2 separate regions of the Homo sapiens genome follow, and region 2 is linked to region 1. The links are contacts of gene promoters, found by promoter capture Hi-C in human tissues and cell types (Jung and others, 2019). All regions are on one chromosome and are shown on one strand. Each heading gives the region's core, a stretch centred on a gene start or on the middle of the fragment in contact. The rest is flanking DNA. Distances are from core to core; before and after follow the strand shown. Region 1 holds the start of BCL6B (BCL6B transcription repressor). Region 2 overlaps NLRP1 (NLR family pyrin domain containing 1).

What was found. The method cuts DNA at HindIII sites, captures the fragments that hold promoters and counts their contacts. A contact is called where the count stands out against the background at its distance.
Region 2: a fragment that was not itself captured here is called in contact with the fragment with the promoter of BCL6B in region 1 in 1 of the 25 tissues and cell types used here (mesenchymal stem cells).

Annotation. Positions count from the first base shown.
Region 1 is chr17:7,020,339-7,027,803 of GRCh38, forward strand. It overlaps BCL6B (BCL6B transcription repressor), which reads left to right and starts at 2,712. Exons shown (of 9, transcript NM_181844.4): 1 at 2,712-2,761; 2 at 3,322-3,512; 3 at 3,745-3,966; 4 at 4,063-4,425; 5 at 4,738-4,862; 6 at 6,119-6,283; 7 at 6,367-6,497; 8 at 6,612-6,749; 9 at 7,165-7,465. The coding sequence starts at 3,334. The coding sequence ends at 7,281. RefSeq lists a silencer at 1,666-1,805. The HindIII fragment of the contact is 11,810 bases long and covers 1-7,465 here.
Region 2 is chr17:5,518,688-5,526,152 of GRCh38, forward strand. It overlaps NLRP1 (NLR family pyrin domain containing 1), which reads right to left. Exons shown (of 17, transcript NM_033004.4): 13 at 2,837-3,099; 14 at 2,194-2,325. The region is part of intron 1 of LOC124903902 (a long non-coding RNA gene); the gene reads left to right. Among named protein-coding and RNA genes, the nearest start is that of MIS12, 36 kb to the left of the region's middle. The HindIII fragment of the contact is 4,716 bases long and covers 1-4,699 here.

The sequences.
Region 1 (7,465 bases), core at 1,462-3,961:
CACCTCCTTGTACCCCACCAGCACCCCTCCTTGCCACAGTTCCAACAGCACTGCCCTGGTCAGGGGTGCCCACTTGGCCAAGGGACACCCCATTTTTCTCCAACTTCCCCCAAACTAAGGGGTGCTCCCTTAAGAAATTGGGATTCAGAGTCTGAAACCGCCTTTTCTCCCTCTCTTCTCCCTCAAGCCACATAATAATAAAAGGAGATACCACACCCTTTCCAAGTTTCTCCCTTCAAATCCTGGGCTTATTTGGGGGTTCACTAAAGAAACTTCTAGAATCTGGGGTGAGAGGGCACTATAAGCAAAAGACATCCCAAACCAGGGTCCAAATTAAGTGAACTCCCAAATCAGTCTCACCTTATGATTATCCCTTAGCTTCACCAAAAGCAGCCAGAGTGACAAAACACCCCCAAAATAAGAACACCCCAGAACTTTAGTCTCCTGTCCTCGCGGCCCTCACCTTGTTTCTCCCCTGGGGAAAAAGCTTCTTGGGTATCCATGGATACACAGGAATACCCCACGTCTTTCCACTTTGTGGAACGTGAGTGTCCACAAGACTCAAATATAAAAGTTTGCTCCCCCCTCCCAGGACCCCCAATCACAGAAAGCTTCGAACTTGCTCCCAGCTTCCTATAATGTTCCACCTCAAACTAATTTTTAAAACTCCAAATTGAACTTATTCCCCAAATCTAATCTGAGCCTTGAAACTTAGATGGCACCCCAAAATAGACTGCACCCCCAAATCAGCATGAGTACTTTGGTTCTGCTGATAGTCCAAGATGACACAGGTGAGCACAATCTCCAAATTGTGGGTGTCAGAACCCCCAGAACTAATGTAACTTCCAAGTCAGCCCCATACCTGAAACTTACCATATAGGCCTCAAAGGCTGAATGCAGCCACCGGTGCTCACAATCAAATCAACACCCCATAATAAACAGACACCCCACAACTGATCAAATAATACTCCATCCTGATGCCAAAGGGAGAGCCCCTAGTCTAATTCTCATCTCCAAGCTGGGCAGAGACCTAAATAACCCTCACATGTCAAAGCCACCTCATCGTCCTGAATTTCCCAGTTCCCGGTTTCTCAGCTGTTCTTTCATGCATTCAAATAAAGACACACTCCGGTCTGAAGGGGAGGGCCCCGGGCCTGATATCCAGCCCCGTGGACCATGGTCGGCCATTCCTGGCCAACTGTACACTCTCCCCAGCCCAAATCCGGGGAGCTTCTGCCTTGCAGCTGGATTCAGCTCTAGCACCCCTTCTCCAAATGAGCTTTGCCTTGCCTGCCCGCAATGTCTCCCGAAACAAAATATGAGGGTGTGATCCATGCCCATCTCTCAGATCAGGGACTTCAAATTAGGGTGGTTAAGCCCCCTCCTGCCCTCTCTCCCTCCTCCTTGTTTTCCCTTCTCGTTTACCCCACCCAATTTTAATGTTCAATTAAAAGTCACCTCCAAAGACATCTGGGTAGCAGTGTCTAGCTTAATTCGAAAAGAAAACCCGGAGTTCCCAGGCTCAGGTCCCGCTTCTTGTCCCACCCATTCCCCTGGCTCCTAAAGCCCGCGATTTCTCACCTCGGGTAGGAACCCCAGCCTGAGGGGAAAGTCCCCTCGGTCTCCTAACTCTAGCTCCCTCCGCCCAGCCCTAGTCCCCTCCTAGGAGACAGAGGTGCAAAATAAACCCGCGCAAAGGGGAGGAGGCTAAAGGTTTCAGCCGCCCAGACCAAATGGATCCTGCGCCCGGGTCTGAGCGCACCCCAGGCCGGGTGGAGACGAGGGGCGAGGCGAGGCCAGTGCTCGGCCGCCCCCTCGTGGAAGGAGCCGCACATTGCCGAGCCTTGCCTACTTGCCGCGCTGGACCCCGGCGTCCCGCCAGCCTCCAAGCGTAGCCGACGGGCGGGTGCCCGAGGCCCTCGTGAGCTGGGATTGGGGGAAAGCAAGCGGGCTTTGGGCGGGAGTCCATCTCTCTGGATCCCTACAAGGACCCAGAAGAGAGTCGGGAGCGAGAGAGGCCGGACGCCTAGGTCTCCCGAGCGTCTCTCGCCCCTCCACCCCCACCTCGGGGCTTTCCCCACCTCCTCGAGGGGAAGCAGCTGGCGGAGCCGTCCGGTCGCAGGACAATGGAAGGAAACCAACTAGAAATCATATCCGCCCTCTCCGTACCCCGCCCGGCCAGAGCCCCCCTTTTTGTAGGCCCGGGTAGAGTAGCCTGTCATTCACACCACACCCTCCCCGTCTGAGACCCTACGGGAGCCCACTGTCGTCTGCCCAAACCTGCTGTCTCGTTGGGCTCCCCCTTTTCTCCCTTAACACAGTACAAGAGAGGGAGAGGGGGTTGCCGTATGCACTTTGTCCTGCAGCAAAGGTTGGCTCCTGGCAAACCCTCCCAAAAGCCAACACACCAATTTTCACTGGCCCAGGCCTTCCGACGACTCAGACTCCCGTATTGCCAACCTCGATATCCCTAACCTCCTCCCCAATTCCAATATCCCCGTCCTCGTGTCCACTTGCAGTGACCCAAGACCCCCTACGTTACGACCACCCCTTGTTTCTGAGGTCCCGCCCTCGAGACGGAGACCCCGCCCTGGACTCGCCATCTGGAGAGCGAGGGAGGAAGGAAGGATACAGACCCAGGCGTTCACCCCACCTCCACCCCCGCCCCCGACATCCCGGCCAGATAAAGGAGCCGAGGCCAAGAGGGGAGAGAGACCCCGCCCCCCTTAAGAAGAGAAGCCGCGGCCCCTGCAGGACGGGGGTAAGAACAAGAGACTGAGGGAGCCAGACTCCTGGGTCCCCCAAGAGGGTAGGAGCTTGTGTGGAGCTTGCCATCAGCGAGCCTGAGTCCCAGAAATTGGGCTAAACTAGGGATTGGGGACTAGATAGGAGTCGCAGAATTCCGTAGTTCGGGGAAGGGAGCCTCGGCTGGGATTTGGAGGTGTGTGGACGGCAGGCCGTGAGATCTCGAGGCAGGGTTGGACACCTGAGACACAGGCGCGCAGAGGGGAGTGGCGGTGCTGGAGGGGCACTGGGGGTCGAACCCAGGGCGATGGGCGCGGGATTCCCCACGCTCGCCAACGACGCCGCGGTGTGGAACCTTCAACTGGCTCCAAGCGCTGTGGGATCTGGAAGAGGCAAGGGAGCGAGGGTGTCGTAGAGGGCAGAATGAACAAGAAGAATTAGGAGGGAGGCTGCGTGTGCCGGGGCTAGGGGCTGGAAGTCCTGGCTCTAGTTGCACCTCGGAAGGAAAAGGCAAACAGAGGAGGGAAGGCGTCTTAGGACTGCCTGGATCCAGAGCACTTTCCACGGCCTCTACAGGCCTGTGTCGCTATGGGTTCCCCCGCCGCCCCGGAGGGAGCGCTGGGCTACGTCCGCGAGTTCACTCGCCACTCCTCCGACGTGCTGGGCAACCTCAACGAGCTGCGCCTGCGCGGGATCCTCACTGACGTCACGCTGCTGGTTGGCGGGCAACCCCTCAGAGCACACAAGGCAGTTCTCATCGCCTGCAGGTTCGAGGGGTGGGGCCTGGGGCGGGGCCAAATGGGAAAGGGGTGGGACCACAGGGCCGTTGAGAGGGAATCCGAAGCCAAGTCTTTCAGAAGCAGGAGGCGGAGCGTCCCAGAATTGGGGGCGGGGTGATAGTGAGGAGGCGGGACTTTTTCAGGGGGCGGGGCTTCCTGAAGCTGCGCATGTCTCCCTTGGTTCCCCAGCCCCCAAAGGACTTATCTGCTCTCTCTCTAGTGGCTTCTTCTATTCAATTTTCCGGGGCCGTGCGGGAGTCGGGGTGGACGTGCTCTCTCTGCCCGGGGGTCCCGAAGCGAGAGGCTTCGCCCCTCTATTGGACTTCATGTACACTTCGCGCCTGCGCCTCTCTCCAGCCACTGCACCAGCAGTCCTAGCGGCCGCCACCTATTTGCAGATGGAGCACGTGGTCCAGGCATGCCACCGCTTCATCCAGGCCAGGTGAGGGACCCTGGCTCGGCGTTCTCTGTGGGTGAGGTGTTAAGGGCAAAGGCAGAGTTTAGGAAATGGCACTAACGTTCATCACACTTTCCCCAGCTATGAACCTCTGGGCATCTCCCTGCGCCCCCTGGAAGCAGAACCCCCAACACCCCCAACGGCCCCTCCACCAGGTAGTCCCAGGCGCTCCGAAGGACACCCAGACCCACCTACTGAATCTCGAAGCTGCAGTCAAGGCCCCCCCAGTCCAGCCAGCCCTGACCCCAAGGCCTGCAACTGGAAAAAGTACAAGTACATCGTGCTAAACTCTCAGGCCTCCCAAGCAGGGAGCCTGGTCGGGGAGAGAAGTTCTGGTCAACCTTGCCCCCAAGCCAGGCTCCCCAGTGGAGACGAGGCCTCCAGCAGCAGCAGCAGCAGCAGCAGCAGCAGTGAAGAAGGACCCATTCCTGGTCCCCAGAGCAGGTACAGAGTCTAGAACCTCAAGAATTTGTCAGAGCTGGCCTCAGCTAGAAGACAGAGTCATTGGGCCTTGATGGTCAGGAGGAAGGGAGATAGGTGGTGGGTTTCAGAGACACTAGCTCACCTTAAGGAGCTGGCCAGAGACCAGGTTTATTCAGCAGGGTGGCACTTGGGCAGTACAATGGATGTGGCTCATTGGTCAACAATATTGGCTCACCCTGAGAGGGCAGGCCTTTGGCTCCAAATTTCCCAGGAGAGAACCCCCACCCCTCAACCGTACAATCTCTTTTAACCCTTTCCTTGCCATCTGCCTAGGCTCTCTCCAACTGCTGCCACTGTGCAGTTCAAATGTGGGGCTCCAGCCAGTACCCCCTACCTCCTCACATCCCAGGCTCAAGACACCTCTGGATCACCCTCTGAACGGGCTCGTCCACTACCGGGTAAGAGCCCCTCTTTCTTGGCTTTTCTCCCGTGACTGCTCCAGGCAAGTTTGTGCCAAAAACTCTCCCAGAAAGGCCTATTCCAATGGTTCCTAAACTTTATTACAAATTAGAATCACCTAGGAAGCTTTTAAACTCCCACTGCCCAGGTCACACTCCATAGATTAAAATATCTGGACATGGGACGAGTCATCAGTATTTTTCTAAAGCTCTCCCAGTGCTTCCAATGAGCAGCAAAGTTTGAGAATTTCTGGCCTATCCCCTTTCAGAGCTGAATGGTCAGCCCAAAGCTTGTCAGGGCCTCTCTGGCAGGCTGTCATTCAGAGTGGTGCAAGTGAGGAGGAGATTTTAGCCAAGCATGGTGGCTCATGCCTGTAATGCCAGCACTTTGGGAGGCCAGTGCAGGAGGATCACTTGAATCCAAGAGCTCAAGGCCAGCCTGGGCAACATAGTCAGATGTGGTCTCTACAAAAAATAAAAATGAAAATTAGCCGGGCACGGTGGTGCACACCTGTAGTCCCAGCTACTCAGGAAGCTAAAGTGGAAGGATCGTCTGAACCCGGGAGGTGGAGATTGCAGTGAGCCGAGATCACACCACTGCACTCCAGCATAGGCAACACAGCAAGACTCTGTCTCAAAAAAAAAAAAAAAAAAAAAAACAGGAGGAGAAACAAAACTCCTCCCACTAGCAGGGGCCTCCACCTACCACCACTGCTTTTATTTTATTTATTTATTTTTTTGAGACGGAGTCTCACTCTGTGGCCAGGCTGAAGTGCAGTGCCGCAATCTCGGTTCACTACAACCTCCACATCCCAGGTTCAAGCGATTCTCCTGCCTCAGCTTCCCGAGTAGCTGGGACTACAGGCACGTGCCACCACACCCAGCTACTTTTTGTATTTTTAGTAGAGACGAGGTTTCACCATGTTGGCCAGGATGGTCTCCATCTCTTGACCTTGTGATCCGACCGCCTCGGCCTCCCAAAGTGCTGGGATTACAGTCGTGAGCCACCGTACCTGGCCCCCACCACTGCTATTGAAGAGGAGATTAGCTGAGTACTCGAGTCAGACAGATGTGCAGTCAGATCTGGCTCATCTTACTATCTTCTTACTTGGCCTTGAGCAAGTCAAACCAGCCCCAGAAGTCTTAACAATAAATTGGGAAACAGAAAGCCTGCTACTGTGTGGTTTGAGGATTCAGTAGTACCTAGATAGCCCTCATTAATAACTATGGTTGCCGTCACCCATTCCCCTTCCCAGGAAGTGAATTTTTCAGCTGCCAGAACTGTGAGGCTGTGGCAGGGTGCTCATCGGGGCTGGACTCCTTGGTTCCTGGGGACGAAGACAAACCCTATAAGTGTCAGCTGTGCCGGTCTTCGTTCCGCTACAAGGGCAACCTTGCCAGTCATCGTACAGTGCACACAGGTAGGGGAAGAGAGGGCCCTGGCCTTCAAGCCCACAGCTGTCCTAGGGCAAAGTCCCTGATCTCCCATGTTCTCTGCCTCCAGGGGAAAAGCCTTACCACTGCTCAATCTGCGGAGCCCGTTTTAACCGGCCAGCAAACCTGAAAACGCACAGCCGCATCCATTCGGGAGAGAAGCCGTATAAGTGTGAGACGTGCGGCTCGCGCTTTGTACAGGTACGGAGCCAGCCTCCAAGTGGCTTCCAAGGCAAACCTGCAAGAGGTGGGGTGGGCCAATAGGGAGGGTTCTGTTCCTCCCAGAGGCAGGACTTGAAGTCTCCTCCCTCCCAGGTGGCACATCTGCGGGCGCACGTGCTGATCCACACCGGGGAGAAGCCCTACCCTTGCCCTACCTGCGGAACCCGCTTCCGCCACCTGCAGACCCTCAAGAGCCACGTTCGCATCCACACCGGAGAGAAGCCTTACCACGTGGGTACCCAACCTGGCCTGCCCACTGCCTTAGAATTACCTCTCCTTTGCCTAGGGGTGGGCTCTGAGAGGTGCGGGCCTGGCTGTCCCTAGATCTCTTAGAAATGAGCGGTGGCCGGAAGAGTCCAAGCAAATAAGGGGTGGAGGCTGGGAGTCAGGATGGGCAGGTATAGAAGTGATGCTCCTGGGCTGAGCACTGTTTTCTCAGAGAGGAGCTGAGAAGTGGGAAAACCTTTGCTAAATAAGGCGGGGCCTATCCCCTCAGCCACCCCTGAGGATTTGGGAGGATGTGAGAGTCAAAGAGCTGATCTTCCGCTGGATAGTTCCCACCTGGGAGAGCTGGACGGCCGCCCGGCTCAACACCTAAAAGGTGATTGTGGATGGGGCAGGGCCTGACTTGGCTGTCCTCCCACAGTGCGACCCCTGTGGCCTGCATTTCCGGCACAAGAGTCAACTGCGGCTGCATCTGCGCCAGAAACACGGAGCTGCTACCAACACCAAAGTGCACTACCACATTCTCGGGGGGCCCTAGCTGAGCGCAGGCCCAGGCCCCACTTGCTTCCTGCGGGTGGGAAAGCTGCAGGCCCAGGCCTTGCTTCCCTATCAGGCTTGGGCATAGGGGTGTGCCAGGCCACTTTGGTATCAGAAATTGCCACCCTCTTAATTTCTCACTGGGGAGAGCAGGGGTGGCAGATCCTGGCTAGATCTGCCTCTGT
Region 2 (7,465 bases), core at 1,092-3,591, 1.5 Mb before region 1:
CCATACTCATTTTTTCATTTTTCATAGAGATGAGGTCTCCCTACATGGCCCAGGTTGGTCTTGAGCTACTGGCCTCAAGTGATTCTCCCACTATGGCCTCCCAAAGTGATGGAATTACAGGCGAAAGTCACTGTACCCAACCACAACAGCATTTTTTTTTTTTTTTTTTGAGACAGGGTCTTGCTCTGTTGACCAGGTTGGAGTGCAGTGGCACGATCTCGGCTCACTGCAAACTCCACCTCCCAGGTTCAAGCAATTCTCCTGCCTCAGCCTCCTGAGTATCAGGGTTTACAGGTGCCCATCACCACTCCCGGCTAATTTTTTTTTTTTTTTGAGACGGAGTCTCGCTCTGTCGCCCAGGCTGGAGCACAGTGGCACAATCTTGGCTCACTGCAACCTCCGCCTCCCAGGTTCATGCCATTCTCCTACCTCAGCCTCCCAAGTAGCTGGGACTACAGGCACCCACCACCACGCTCGGCTAAAGTTTTGTATTTTTGGTAGAGATGGGGTTTCACTGTGTTAGCCAGGATGGTCTCGATCTCCTGACCTTGTGATCCGCCCGCCTCAGCCTCCCAAAGTGCTGGGATTACAGGCTTGAGCCACCACACCCGGCCCTCCCGGCTAATTTTTGTATTTCTAGTAGAGACTGGGTTTTGCCATCTTGGCCAGGCTGGTCTGGAACTCCTGATCTTAGGTGATCTGCCTGCCTTGAACTCCCATAGTGCTGCGATTACAGGAGTGAGCCACCACACCTGGCCTTTTTTTTTTTTTTTTTTAGACAGAGTTTTGCTCTTGTAGCCCACACTGGAGTGCAGGGGGGGTGATCTTGGCTCACTGCAACCTCTGCCTCCCGGGTTCAAGCAATTCTCCTGCCTCAGCCTCCCGAGTAGCTGGCATTACAGGTGCCTCTCACCATGCCCCACTAATTTTTTGTATTTTTAGTAGAGACAGGTTTTCACTATGTTGGTCAGGATGGTCTCAAACTCCTGATCTCAGGTGATCCACCCGCCTTGGTCTCCCAAAGTGCTGGGATTATAGGCGTGACCCACTGCGCCTGGCCCATAATGGCCTTTTGACTTGTCTCTCTGCTTTCACTCTTGCCTGCTTATCATTCGTTCTCACCCAGCAGCCAGAGGCATCTTTATGAAAGTAAATCAGGTCTTTTTTTTTTTTTTTTTTTTTTTTTTGAGACAGAGTCTTGCTCTATCACCTAGGCTGGAGTGCAGTGGTGCACTCTCGGCTCACTGCAACCTCTGCCTCCCAGGTTCAAGTGATTCTCCTGCCTCAGCCCCCTGAGTAGCTGGCATTACAGGCATACACCACCACACCCAGCTAATTTTTGTATTTTTAGTAGAGACAGGGTTTCACCATGTTGGCCAGGCTGGTCTCGAACTCCTGACCTCAAGTGATCTGCCCACCTCGGTACCCAAAATGCTGGGATTACAGGCGTGAGCCACCGCGCCTGGCTGTAAATCAGGTCTTGTATTAGCTGTTTATGACCCTCAAAAGCTTGCCATTGCACTTAGAACAAAGTGCAAAGTGCATACCAGGGCCAACAGGGCAGATGAGGCCTGGTAAGACCCTGCCTCTAATCTGACTCATCTTTTGCTATACTGACCTCTTTTTTGTCATCTGGAGGCGTCAAGCTTGCTCCCACCTCTATGCCTCTGCACACATTCCTTCTGCCTGAAATGTTCTTCCACAAATCTCCGTGTGGCCTGAACCAACACCCAATCTAAAGAAAATCTTCGTTTCCTTAGATCTTCCTCAAATGTATGCAACCAAGGCCCAAATCCTATAGCAGATTCTTTCAAACACCCTTTACTGAGACACCCCATGGTTCCCCATAATATGTGTTCTGCCACTGCAATGATTAATAAAGCCAGTATGTTCAACTACAGGTTTGTTCCTGGTGGTCTGGACTGAAGGACATTGATGACCTATAGCCCAAACACTTCCCAGTGCCCCCAAGTCAAACCCCATCATCCTTCACATCCTGCATGTGATCCTCCCTCCTCCGAACTTTCTTTCTCCTAGTCTTGGAAGCATTCCCACTTTCTCTAAATCCCACTCACTTTCTGTTCAACCTCGATTTATCCTGTCCCTGAGAAAGCCCTGAGACCTGCCCCACAGGCATTCATTCCCAGGTAGGACTTCTGTTCGCAGTGAAGAGGCAGACACTGGGCTGCTCACCTTGGGGAGTATTTCCAGCATCCCTGAACCAGACCCAGACACAGTGTAACGACAGCCCATATAAAGTGGGGTCAGCGGGGGTGGCTTGTGGATTCGCACAAACTGGAATTTCATTTCTAGATCATCTATGGCCTACAGAACATAGGGAACAATGATTAAGGGAGGCTTCTGCCCCGTGGAATGTGGTTTGAATAGGGGGGATGGTGCATCTGTGTGTTTGTGTGGACAGAGTGGGGCTATATCACCCCTGCCTCCCTCCCCCCATGCACTGCTACAGAGACAGCCCGCACTTGGTCTTTGATGTCTTCAGGATAGGAATAGGGTTATTGTTAGGGAAGTTAGAATGAGGAAAGGCTACAGTTTTAGGCATGGAGGACTCCAATCCTTTGATTCCTGGACAGGGGCCGTAAGAAACTGTCCAAAGATCAGTGATTGATCAATGAACCTAGCAGGGGGATACCTTGGAGAGGCAGGAGACCAGTCCAAGACTGAGAGGGGACGAATTGTTTGCCCACTTCAAGGTTCTCCTGTACAAGAGGCCCATCCTTGGTCCCAGTTGAAGACCCTCTAGGGGGCTCTCTGGCTGCATTTTGTGTTTACCGTCAACCCACCGTGGCCCAGCCTTTCTGGCTCTTAGTGTCACCTTCCGAATGGAGCAGTCACTTGGGATCAGGTAGAGGTGGAAGGTGACTTCCTCAGGATGGACGCGGTGGTAAAGCAACACCACAGAGGTGACGGGAATGAAGCGCAGGGCATTATGGATCATTTTCAGGAGGACTCCCAAGGGGGAGAAGCTGGGGTTTTCCAGAACTATGTGATGCAGCTCCACCCTGGCTGGCTTCTCCAGGAGCATCCCCTCCTCTTTAAAGTGGGCCATTTGGAACAGGGATGTGTCCACATGGCCCCCTGTAAAAGAATGGATTGAAGAGGCACAGGTTTATTTTTATTTATTTATTTTGTTGAGACAGAGTTTCGCTCTTGTCGCCCAGGCTGGAGTGCAATGGTACAATCTCGGCTCACTGCAACCTCCGCCTCCTGGGTTCAAGCGATTCTCCTGCCTCAGCCTCCCGAGTAGCTGGGATTACAGGCGCCTGCCACCATGCCCAGCTAATTTTTGTATTTTTAGTAGAGATGGGGTTTAACTATGTTGGCCAGGTTGGTCTTGAACTCCTGACCTCAGGTGATCCGCCTGCCTCGGCCTCCCAAAGTGCTGGGATTACAGGCGTGAGCCGCTGCATCCAGCCCAAGAGGCCTAGATTTAGTGTTGTTACTGAGTCAGGATTTGCTGGCACTGTAGGATCCCAGGGCTTAGGCTCAGGTACCCTCTTGGGGGAGCCCAGTGCTATGGTCTTGAATGTCTGTGTCCTCCTACAATTCATATGTTGAAATTCTAACCCCCAAGGTGATGGTATTAAGAGGTGAAGCTTTTATGGGAGGTGATTAGGTCATGGGGGTGGAATTCTCATGAATGGGATTAGTGCCCTTACAAAAGAGACTCAAGGGAGCTTGCTTGTCCCTTCCACCCTGTGAGGACACAGCTAGAAGGCTCCATGTATGAGGAATGGGCCTCACCAACACACCAAATCTGCTGGCGCCTTGATCTTGGACTTACCAGGCTCCAGAACTGTGAGAAACAAATTTCTGTTATTTACAAGCTACCTAGTTTATGGTATTTTGTTATAGCAGCCTGAACAGGCTAAGACACCCAGCATGGGGAAGAGGGCATTTCTAGGCCTGGGGCCTTTGGAGGCTGTGGGAAATTGTGCCACCAGGTGGGAGCACTTAGCAGTGCTGAACTCCTAAGTGGAGCTCAAGGATCACCCTTGAGCCAAACTTATACGCAAACCCAGCCCCTGGCCCTGGAGCTGGGAAAGATATAGAACCTCTAGTTGCCTGTGCTGGTGTGGATTCTCTATGAGAGACCATTGAGTGATGCTGGAAGGTTTGACTAGGCAGGTAGAGAACAAGGAGGAGGAAGGGGCAGTAGGAACATAGAGTGACCAAGGTGTTTGGCCACTCACTATTCAAACTCTTCTTTTTAGGAAGAGCCTCCTCCTCCAGCACTGTGTGGGTCTTGGCAGGAGGCAAGCCAAGCCCCCCACTCAGGATGCTACTACTCCCTGGCAGCAAGGACACAGGTGTGTGACCAAGACTTGACTAAGTGGTTGTCTCTAACTGGGACCTCAAGTCTAGAGGGGTGAAACAGATGCAGAGAGAGAGAATTCTGGCAGTAGCAGTTGGGTGAAGAGTCCAGTGAGAGGCAGGTGTGGTGGTGCACACTCATAATTCCAGCTACTTAGGAGGCTGAGGTGGGCGGATCACTTGAACCCAGAAGTTCAAGGTTGCAATGAGCTATGAGTGTGCTGCTGCATTCTAGCCTGGGTGACAGAGTGAGACCCTGTCTCAAAAACAAAAAACAAAAAACAAAAAACAAAATACCAGAAAGAAAGAAAAAGAGCCCAGTGGCTCCTGGGCAGGAGGGTCCTACAGTAGCTGTCTCCGTATTTTCTGCCGCCTGTCTCCGTATTTTCCTGATGTGACCTTGGCTCTGCCCTTGGTTTCTCTGAGTCATTGGGTCACTATCTTCCCCCCCGCTTAGATTTGTTGCATAACCTTTTGCTAAGTCTATGAGTTAGTCAATAACCTTTCAATGTATCCCTTTTCTGCTTAAATCAGCCAGAATTGGTACCTTTGATTGCAGTCTCTGACCAGCGCCAGGCAAGGACATTGAAGTTACAAGAGAGCTTGAGGGATGAATACTGGTAATGGGAGAGACACTGGCCTAGGGATCAGAGGTCCCAGCTCCATCCCTGCATTGCCTGGTAACTGCTGCAATGCAAGTGGTTTCTGGGCAACAAGGCATCCAGCAAGCTGGACAAAGCCCTTAGTCAGATGTCAATCCCAGAAGGGTCCATGAAGACCATTACTTAAGTTTTGTCATTTAACTGCGTTTTTGGGATGAAAATAAAGTCACAGTGGTATCTATCATCTGAAAAAATGAGGAAGAATTCACCTATGAATCTTACCAATCAAACAATACAACTATTCTTTTTTTATTTTTGACACGGAGTCTAGCTCTGTCACCGAGGCTGGAGTACAGTGGTGTGATCTTGGCTCACCACAGCCTCCGCCTCCTGGGTTGAAGTGATTCTCATGCCTCAGCCTCCCGAGTAGCTGGGACTACAGGCATGCACCACTGCGCCTGGCTTTTTAGTAGAGATGGGGTTTCACCATGTTGGCCAGGCTGGTCTTGAACTCCTGACCTTAGGTGATCCACCTGCCTCGGCCTCCCAGACCGCGCCTGGCCACAGTATAACTATTCTTAGCATGGGACGCCTGCATTACAGTCTTTCTCTGCGGCAACACCTTTTCCTATTTTTATTGTAGTCCATGATACTTTGTCTCTTGTTTCCTGTGACAGTTTAACTTGCTGCAAGGATGTCAGACCATTTAATTACCACAGTATATGATCCCTGCTAGTGGATGCACCACCCTGTGATTCAGCCTGTTTCTCATTTCAGTGTTGAGTTTGCTTCCAACTTTTCACCATGATAAATAGCACCTGCAATGCACATATTCTGCAGAAAGCTTCTATTTCCCTTGTGTTATTGCCTTGAAATCAATCAGTACCAAGGGATGAGGAAAGCGTGTGAGATGGTATGACCTCCTTCACTCCCCAGTTGCTTCTCCAAGAGGCGATGCTGGTTTGCGTTGCCATCACTGGCACTAAATGGATGGTCTCATCCTGACCTCCAAAGCACTGGAATGTCTTCACATGTCAGTTGAGGGAGCTGAAATCCTGGGAGGAAAGTGCTTTTTCCAAGGCCACACAACCAGCCATGGTCCTAGGACCAGATCCCAGGATTCTGACCACAGTCTGGAGCACTAACAGACGCTCGGTGCCACTTGAATTTTTGCTGAATTCCAGAAGGTGCTGGGTGTCTCCAACTTACCTTCTTGCTAGGGTGACCAACTGTCCATGCTTGCCCAGGACCGAGAGGGCTCCTGGGGGTGCAGGACTGTCAGTGTTAAGATGAGCTGGTCACCCCCCTTCTTGCACATACTGCCCTTTCCATAGATTGTGGTAGAGTCACCTCATCCAAACCTGACAGTATATTTGTGCTGATAGATTGGAGAGAGAAGGGAAGCAATGGGGAAGACTGTGGTCTGAAGGAGAAGAAGGTTGAGTGTTGACTGGAGGAAGTCTCACTGGCAGAAAGACCTACGCTGCCTTTGGCTGGTTGCACCAGAAAAATTTAGAAAAAGCTATCATGAGGTAGGCATGTTTCTGTGGGTCTGGGGTCCAGGGCTTTGCATCTGCTTATTACACAAAAGCTTACTGAGTACGGACAATGTGCCAGCCCCTGTGGATGTAGCTGTGAACAGGAAAGACATGGGCACTGCAATTCCAGAGCTTGTGGCCCAATGGGGAATACAGACAGCAAATAGAACAATGGCTCAAAGCATGACAAGTGCTCCGCCAATGGAAGCCTGTCAGCTCCTTCCTCCTTTCCCAGCCGCATGCCCGGTGTTTGCCTTGGGACATTGCTGCTCCTGCTGTCCAGGAGCCTGGGGACTCTCCCTCCTTTAGATGCTGCCCTTGGGCCTGTGGCCTGATGCCTGGCCGTGCCCTTCCTGCTGAGTGTGTGTGGTCAGCACCTTCCAGGCTCAGGTGAGCTGTTGAGGGGCACAGTGGCTCTCCTACTCAAGCAGGGACAGTGGGACCCACATCACATGAAGGTAGGGCACTAGAGGGTTGTCTAGCAGAGCAGCTAAATGATAGGGACTGCCTGGCTTTGACTCCCAGCAAGGGTTCTTACCAACTGTGGGACTCTGAGCAGATTACTTGCCCTCTCTGTGCATCATCTGTAAAGTGGGGCTGATAACAGCATCCCCCTCCCGGTGTCACTGTGCAGATTGACTGGGTTTGTGTCTATAAAGCCCTGGGGATAATAAGGACCACTTGCTCGTATTACAGATAAAATGCAGCTTGACCAATCTATCCACCTGGCTGTGGTGGTTCCTTCTGTTTCTTCCTCAAACAACTCGGCCCAGTCCTCTTGGTAACTCTTGGGGTCTGGGAAGAAAAAGCTACTAAATTTTTTTTTTTTTTGAGACAGAGTCTTGCTCTGTCACCCAGGCTGGAGTGCAGTGCACGATCATGACTCACTGTAGCCTTGACCTTCCAGGCTCAAGTGCTCCTCTCACCTCAGCCTCCTGAGTAGTTGGAACTACAGGTGCGCACCACCATGCCTGGCTAATTCTTCAATAT